Regions from separate parts of the Homo sapiens genome. Here all the other regions are linked to region 3. The links are contacts of gene promoters, found by promoter capture Hi-C in blood cells and fetal thymus (Javierre and others, 2016). All regions are on one chromosome and are shown on one strand. Each heading gives the region's core, a stretch centred on a gene start or on the middle of the fragment in contact. The rest is flanking DNA. Distances are from core to core; before and after follow the strand shown.

Evidence for each region. The method cuts DNA at HindIII sites, captures the fragments that hold promoters and counts their contacts. A CHiCAGO score of 5 or more calls a contact.
Region 1: a fragment that was not itself captured here is called in contact with the fragment with the promoter of LINC00449 in region 3 in 1 of 17 cell types (naive CD8 T cells); the score reaches 5.7 in naive CD8 T cells.
Region 2: a fragment that was not itself captured here is called in contact with the fragment with the promoter of LINC00449 in region 3 in 4 of 17 cell types (activated CD4 T cells, naive CD4 T cells, fetal thymus and 1 more); the score reaches 6.9 in activated CD4 T cells.

Annotation. Positions count from the first base shown.
Region 1 is chr13:100,517,996-100,520,695 of GRCh38, forward strand. All of the region lies in intron 22 of PCCA (propionyl-CoA carboxylase subunit alpha), which reads left to right. Among named protein-coding and RNA genes, the nearest start is that of PCCA-AS1, 38 kb to the left of the region's middle. RefSeq lists an enhancer at 1,242-1,907. The HindIII fragment of the contact is 2,940 bases long and covers 1-2,700 here.
Region 2 is chr13:100,583,178-100,585,903 of GRCh38, forward strand. It overlaps GGACT (gamma-glutamylamine cyclotransferase), which reads right to left. Exons shown (of 3, transcript NM_001195087.2): 2 at 648-820. Among named protein-coding and RNA genes, the nearest start is that of GGACT, 4.2 kb to the right of the region's middle. The HindIII fragment of the contact is 1,462 bases long and covers 653-2,114 here.
Region 3 is chr13:99,499,668-99,502,367 of GRCh38, forward strand. It overlaps LINC00449 (long intergenic non-protein coding RNA 449), which reads right to left and starts at 1,396. Exons shown (of 2, transcript NR_133664.1): 1 at 728-1,396; 2 at 56-273. TM9SF2 (transmembrane 9 superfamily member 2) reads left to right here and starts at 1,805. Exons shown (of 17, transcript NM_004800.3): 1 at 1,805-2,110. The coding sequence starts at 1,940. RefSeq lists enhancers at 1,511-1,690, 1,597-2,185. The HindIII fragment of the contact is 1,300 bases long and covers 940-2,239 here.

The DNA.
Region 1 (2,700 bases), core at 130-2,629, 1.0 Mb after region 3:
TTAACACCGCGGGGCGTGTTGTGTTTTCCTCCGCACTAACAATAGCCGGGCGAGGTTCCCCTTTTATGGGTGGGAAGATAATGGAGTCAGTCTCCTTGGTGTATTTTCAAGGAAAATAAGGACCCTAAAACAACTAAGGGCCTTACAAGTATTCTGTTTTTCTTTGAAATGTTACTTTTTATCGTTTAAATTCCAGTAATCTATCATGTTTCTGTTTAGCTTAGCTGAAGTAAAACTTGACCAATCGTAGAATGGTGGGCCTGGCAATAAGTTCTAAAAAAAGTGTCACATAAATCGTAATGAACAAATCTGTTTTGTGAAGTAAACAATTTGAACACAGTTTAAAAACCTCAGGAAGAAGAGATGTGGGGTGGCCGTTGAGAAGTAGTGAATCCGCTCGGGGCGCTTGGTGTGGCAGGGCCTTGTGCACTGATTCATTTGAAACACTCAGCCTGCCCTAAACACAGAAGCTGTGTTTTATTTGAAGGGCTTCTGTAGGGTTCACACAGCAAAAGTTCCTAATAACTTTTTCAGTGTCTGTTATATACTATTTAACATTAAATGTGGCAGGTCACATTTTAAATGATTGTGTAATAGTTTTTCCGAACACGTGGAGAGAGGATGTTAATACACAGTAAAATGCAGGTAAGCAAACAAATCAATAAGAAAGTACAGTGGATTATTAAGGTCCAGAATCAGTAATATAATTTAGGAAACAACTGATAGAATAAATTTTAGTGCCTTTTTATATGCCTTCTGAAAATGTTTCTGCAGTAACTCATTTCAGTTTGAAAACTCGTTTTCTTAGACTCGTAACACTATTGTAAACTGGGAGCACTTCTGTAATCAAAGTTAGCATGACTCAGCTGTTTCAAACTTCTACCTTTATGATACTCTTGAACAGAAATGTTAGAAATATATATATTTTCAGAATAACGGTAGAATACATTTTTCCACATGTCAAATTAGACTTATAGCTGCTGAATTTATTGCATAATTTTCACTTTGACTTTGAAGTCAAATAAAGTCATGATGAGCACATTCGCTTTGTTAGCCTTTTGATATCAGAAACAAAACCACCCCATAAGATAGTCACCCAAGGAGGCATTTTAATATTGCATTTAGTTAAGATTCTTTCAAGTAATGTTCGTATTCTGCAGTCATCACAGATTTGCATCAGAAATACTCATTTAATACACCAAACAAATGAGAAACAAACCATAAGCTGCTATATACTCATCTGCATTTCTTTCTTTCTTAACAATTAGTGAAACCAGGTGAAAGAATAGATTGAAATTAAGTACCTGTTGCTGCTTTTTCTTGCGAATTAGCCCATTCGATATTAGACTTCGGGATATTTTGGTGGGGCTAAGATGAAAAGATCCACCTCGTGATGGAATTGACCTTCAGCAGGGGACAGTGAGGTGTCTGCGGTTGTTCCTCTTGTGAACAACGCCTTAAAGGCGAGAAACAGCCTACTGTACAGTGTGCCAGGGAAAGCATCACATCGGTGGGCGTCGGTGGCAACACCACTTACACTTCACCCTGATTTTGTTTCCTCCTTGCACGTGCTCCTTTGACAGGGCAGGCTCCCAAGCAGGTGTGCAGTCAGGGCCACAAGACACAGGCACCCCATCCCATCTCAGAGTCTGACGTCCCCTCCTCCCCTTTGTCTCTAAGCCTCATGTAACTGAGCTTATAGCCGACCATACAGAACTGGCAAACTTGGTGAGATACCTTTATTTTTTATTTCTTAAACAAGATTTTAAAATTTCATAAGCTCTCACGTATCCTAACGAGAAGGCAGGGCTGGGCCCTCCCGACGGGTGTTTGCCTGGCATCGCGCTTGTGTGCCTCATGCAGCCCAGGCTCGCTCACTGCATCTTTCCCTGGCAGAGGGGCTAGCCTGGCTGCTTCATAGACTTTCCAGTTTCTGGATACCTTGATTTACAATCACAAAATAATTGCAGTAATTAAATTTATATGTTTTATAGCAATAGTTATTCAAGCAGTTTATTTGACAAGATGCCAGTTTTCACCCAAACCTCAGATTGTATCTCACAGCATGTACACAGAGATCCATGCATTTGTTAACATTTTAAGACTTTAAAATTATGAAATACTACAAACATGCAGAAAGTTACAGAGAAGAATCCAACAAGCACTCCTGTGCCCTTTGTTCACCATTTCCATATGTGTTTCAAATTTTATTTAACAATGAGACATTACATATAACATGAACTTCCCCTGTGGCAAGCTCCTCCATCTCATTCCTGTCCTGTCTTCTTCAGAGGTAACGACTACCCCTGGATTTGGCCTTTTAATCTTTTCCAGATAACATTTATTTTTAAATGTTAAGAGTTGGTTTTTGGCCGGGCGCGGTGGCTCACGCCTGTAATCCCAGCACTTTGGGAGGCCGAGGCGGGCGGATCACGAGGTCAGGAGATCGAGACCACGGTGAAACCCCGTCTCTACTAAAAATACAAAAAATTAGCCGGGCGCAGTGGCGGGCGCCTGTAGTCCCAGCTACTCGGGAGGCTGAGGCAGGAGAATGGCGTGAACCCGGAAGGCGGAGCTTGCAGTGAGCGGAGATCGCGCCACAGCACTCCAGCCTGGGCGACAGAGCGAGACTCCGTCTCAAAAAAAAAAAAAAAAAAAAAAAGAGTTGGTTTTTGTTGGAGGTAACAAATATCTATTAGT
Region 2 (2,726 bases), core at 134-2,633, 1.1 Mb after region 3:
ATCACATGTTCCTAGCTCTCATTACATTTTCATTTATCTGTGTTAACACGAATTTTTAAAAGAAACCTTAAAATGGGCAAGTCTTTCTAAGCAAAACACAAAACAAAGACACTATAAAGGGGAGATCGATATTTTTAAGTACATAAAATTAAAATTTTTTGCAAAGCCTAGAGACTGTATTACACAAAGTACAAAAAATAGGGTGGAAATAGTTATAGTACGTATGACAAAAGATTAGTATTCTCAATGTATAAATAATTCTTATAAATCAAAAGACAACCCCAGAGAAAAACAGATGAAGAAATGAATATACACTTTCTCTACTATTCTTTCCTTCCCTTTCCCTCCTCCTTTAATTTTTTGAGACAGGGTCTCACTCTGTTGCCCAGGCTGGAGCACAATGGCATAATCAGTGTAATCACAGCTCACTGCAGCCTCAATCTCCTGGGATCAAACAATCCTCCTGCCTCAGCCTCCTAAAGTGCTGGAATTACAGTACAAGCCACCGTACCTGGCTCCCCACCACTACTATTCTTAAATGACAAAGAGACAAGGGCTTCCAACTGGCACTATTTGTCAGCATACTTCTTGTGGTGCTCTAGAATTTGAGCAATGAACACTCTAGAACAGAGGCTAACAGTTCTCACCTGTAAGCTTGTTTCTTCAAGGAAGTGTTGCCTTAGAATCCAGATCCACAGTAAGCCTGAGAGTCTTAAAAACTTTTGACTTCAGAATCCTTCCACATGATTCAAGAAAAAGTTAAGTCCACTTCACAGGGTGACCAGAAAGTCCATGGGGACCAAATATCCAGTTTTCAGTCCTGTTGGGAGGTGAGATAAGAGGAAGTCAACTGAAGAAAGTTAAACATTTAAGCAATAAGGGGCTTACAAACAAACATAAATGACCTAACTACCATTAGAAGGCAATCTCAGACCCTGGGCACATACCCAGGGAAGGAATATACTTATATTCAGTGCAAAAATGCAGTCCACATGCTTGAGGGGCCAAAGAATGCCTTGAATAGAGGAACCTTCCCAGTGACCTAGAGAAAGGGTTCAAAGTTCTCAAGACCTCCTTGACAAAATGTGGTACATATACACAATGAAGTACTATTCAGCCATTAAAAAGGAGATCCTGTCATTTGCAACAATATGGTGCAGCCGGAGGTCGTTATGTGACGTGAAATAACCCAGACACAGAAAGACAAACTTTGCATGTTCTTACTCATTTGTGGGAGCCAAAAATTAAAACAATTGAACTGACTGAGATAGAGATCAGAATGATGGTTACCAGAGGCTAGGAAGGGTAGTAGGGGGGTTGGGGGAAAGCAGAGATGGTTAATGGGTACAAAAACACAGAAAGCAGGAATAAGATCTAGTATTTGATAGCACAACAGGGTGACTATAGTCAGTAATAATGTAACTATACATTTAAAAATAACTAAGAGTATCGTTAGATTGTAACACAAAAGATAAATGCTTGAGGTGATGGATACCCCATTTACCCTGATGTGATTATTACACATTGTATCTCATATACCTTGTAATGAGGGTTTATTATTACACATTGTATCTCATATACACCTATTACTAGGTACCCACAAAAATTAACTATCAAAAAAGAACTATTTGAGAAATAACAGCTCTATATACTCTCCTACAAATAAGAAAAGTAAAAAGAAAAAGAAAAAATGTCTTCTCAGCCATCAGGCAAAGCCAATTTTAGTAATGCTGAGCTCCTATTTTGGTAATGTTGAGCTTCTTTGATTCTTTGATGAGGGTTTCCAAGTCTTTAAAGTCAGATAAATTTAGATTTAAAAAAAGTCAAACCACTTCTGAAGTAGACTTGCCAAAAATGGCAAGCATGAACCTAATTAAGCCTCTAGATCTAACTTCTAGTTTACAGGAAATATAGGGGATAGAGAAGCAAGCCAAACCACACTCCACGAAAAGCAGCCCAACAGATCCAGAGTGTGAGGCACCCTACAGGCAATCAACCAAGTAACATCGACAGTCATTGGTATTGAGGAAACCCGCCAAGGCTGCTCTAGACTTGGGTCGGCAAACCACAGCCTGCGGGTAAGTCCAGCCTGTGGGTGGATTTTAAAACACAAAAGCTTTGGAAATTAAGTATTATTGGAACACAGCCATGCTTATCCATTTACTATCACCCCTGGCTACTTCTGCATGACGATGGCAGAGCTGAGCAGTTGTGGCAGAGACCATAGGGCCTGCAAAGCCTGAAAGAGCTGGTATCTGGCTCTTCACAGAGACATCTGCCACCCCTGCCCTAGATTGAAAGGGGCAACAGCTGAGCACGGTGGCTCACGGCTGTAATCGCAGCACTTTGGGAGGCAGAGGCAGGTGGATCACTTGAGTTCAGGAGCTCCAGACCAGTGTGGCCAACATGGTGAAACCCCGTCTCTACTAAAAATACAAAAATTAGTTGGGTGTGGTGGCATGCGCCTGTAGTCCCAGCTACTTGGGAGGCTGAGGCATGAGAATCACTTGAACCCAGGAGGCGGAGGTTGCAGTGAGCCAAGATTGTGCCACTGCACTCCAGCCTGGGTGACAAGAGTGAGTGAGACTCCGTCTCAGGAAGGAAAAAAAAAAAAAAGACCAGCCTGGGCAATACCTGTCTCCACCAAAAAAAAAAAAAAAAAAAAAAAAAAAAAAAAATAGCTGGGCATTGTGGCACATGCCTGTAATCCCAACTACTCAGGAGGC
Region 3 (2,700 bases), core at 146-2,645:
TGGAGTGCAGTGGCGCGATCTCGGCTTACCGCAAGCTCCGCCTCCCGGGTTCACGCCATTCTCCTGCCTCAGCCTCCCAAGTAGCTGGGACTACAGGAGCCCGCCACCACGCTCGGCTAATTTTTTTGTATTTTTAGTAGAGACGGGGTTTCACCGTGTTAGCCAGGATGGTCTCGATCTTCTGACCTCGTGATCCGCCCATCTCGGCCTCCCAAAGTGCTGGGATTACAGGCGTGAGCCACCGCGCCGGCCGAAGGTCAAGTTTCAGTGGTGCTAGGAAAAGAAGATAGTGAGCAAAAATGTTAATTTTTGTTTCCTCCTCTTAATATTTGGAGAAAACGTCTGCTTCCTTTTGTTATATTGGAAATCTCCATGACTTCCAAATACAGAATATTTTACAATTTTTCCCTATCCCAAAGTTCAGCGAATATGTTGATTTATTTGAGGGAGAGGACATGAAAGGGAAGCCACCTAGGCACAATTTTCTGCTCAGGCCCTACCAGATTAGTTTTTGTTATCAAAAAAAAAAAAAAAAGTGCCATTCCTTGGGCCAAGCTATGTGCTCAGCACTTTCCCTCCATTTTTGATTTAATCTTCACAACAACCTTAAGATGAACGTTCTTTTCTACTTCCCAGTTCTCTTGATTAACTTGGCTACCCCACTATATGGATCAATTTGCAGGGTCCTAGGTCCCTTTGAAAATCTGATGAAAGTTATAAACCTTACCTGGGAAAAAAGTACAAACACCCGCAAGAACTTGAAATAGGAGTTCACTGGCCCTCAACTTTCTGAGCTTACTATTTCACAAACCTGCCTATTCTTGAATTCTGAGCTGGAGGTCATGATTCTCTCTTATGTACTTTAAGATGATGCACTCTTCCGAAGTTTTTGATTGAACTCTAGTGGCTAACTGAATTGACTTTTTCAGATCACTAAAAAGCTTCTCCTTGAAAAATACTCAGAAGATGCAACACACACACACACACACGTGTGTGCACTTACACACGCGGACACCGTCTCACATCATCAGTGGGAAAAGTGATAGAATCTTGCTAAAGGCTGATCATACCATATTAATCCGATTCGCCAGAACTACTTTCTTCACTGAGCTCTCAGGTATGCTCGGGTCTTCCTTTAAAGAAAATAAATGTCAACGCTACACTCTATCCTACTCCCATTTTCCTCCTCACCCCATTTCCACTCTCCCTTAAAGAGATGTGTGCACACAATCACTGCCCAATGCAAGAATGCACCACTGCATCCAATGCTTGGAAATTGTCCGTGAAGATGCCTTTGAGTAGCTGTCTATTTGAGGATTTGTGGCTAATTCCTCCCCATTTGTTTCCTTAGCCTGCTCCCAACCAGGTGTCTCCAGAACTTTTTCTCTCCGCCACCAACTCCGCCTCCAGACAGACCGCAGGTGCTTTCTGTCATAGGGACTGGCGTGCCGCGGACAGTGTGACAAAGAAACTGTATGATGGATATGAGAACTTCGTAAGACCCAGCAGCAAACGGGGAGCGGCTGGCGAGCGCTCCACAGCCCCCAAGCGTGGGAGCTCTAGATCGGAATTTGTAATTTGGAATTGGAACGTGAGCGCCGGAACAGCTCTCCCAGCAACCACCTCTCCCAGCAACCACCTCAGCTGGCGCGCGGAAAACCCGGAAAGTGGATTTCGCCCCCGCTCCCTCCCGGAAACTCCTCCTGGTGCCTGCGACCGTTCTCACTGAGCATGTGCAGACGGCGGTGCGCATGCTCTGTTGCGGTCCGCTTCGGTTTCTGTTGCGGGACCCGGGGTGTCTCCTAGCGCAACCGGAACTAGCCTTCTGGGGGCCGGCTTCCTTTATCTCTGGCGGCCTTGTAGTCGTCTCCGAGACTCCCCACCCCTCCTTCCCTCTTGACCCCCTAGGTTTGATTGCCCTTTCCCCGAAACAACTATCATGAGCGCGAGGCTGCCGGTGTTGTCTCCACCTCGGTGGCCGCGGCTGTTGCTGCTGTCGCTGCTCCTGCTGGGGGCGGTTCCTGGCCCGCGCCGGAGCGGCGCTTTCTACCTGCCCGGCCTGGCGCCCGTCAACTTCTGCGACGAAGAAAAAAAGAGCGACGAGTGCAAGGTGGGTGAGGCCTGACGAGCCCTCTGATGCACTGTTGGAAGGGGAAGTCGTCCCTATCCGGGGGAGCTGATCCTCGGGTGGGAGCGAGGGAAGGGGGCGTAGCAGCGGGTGGGGTTGAGTTTCCCCAGAAGCTTTTGGGGTCTGCTGGGCTGTGGGTGGGGGGCTCTGAAACAGCCCTTGCAAGGGTAGTTTCTGGAGGACGCAGTGGGCCTCAGACTCGCCTCCCGTCTTGCGGGCCAAGTGGCACGAGCAGCTGTATTCAGTTTTCCTGGAACAGGGACCGTGTGGAGCGCCCTTGGAGTTGGGCTTCACGCCTCAGAGCTTTGGAGTTGGATGTATGCAGGTCCACGCGTGAGTGTTCGCTCACAGCCCTGTAACATGTACGCTGAGGAAGCGGGTGACCGACTCCCTACATGTGAGCAACACTCAGCCTAGTTAACAGTTTCCATTAGCTTTTAACTTCATTGCTTCCTGTTTAATTGCATTTTCCTGGAACCTTCTAGTTGGTTAGGAGAGCTTGTTCTTTCTAGGACTTTGATATCTCGCTTCACAATTAGAAGTTGGTTCCTTATTTGTGGAGTATAACACCC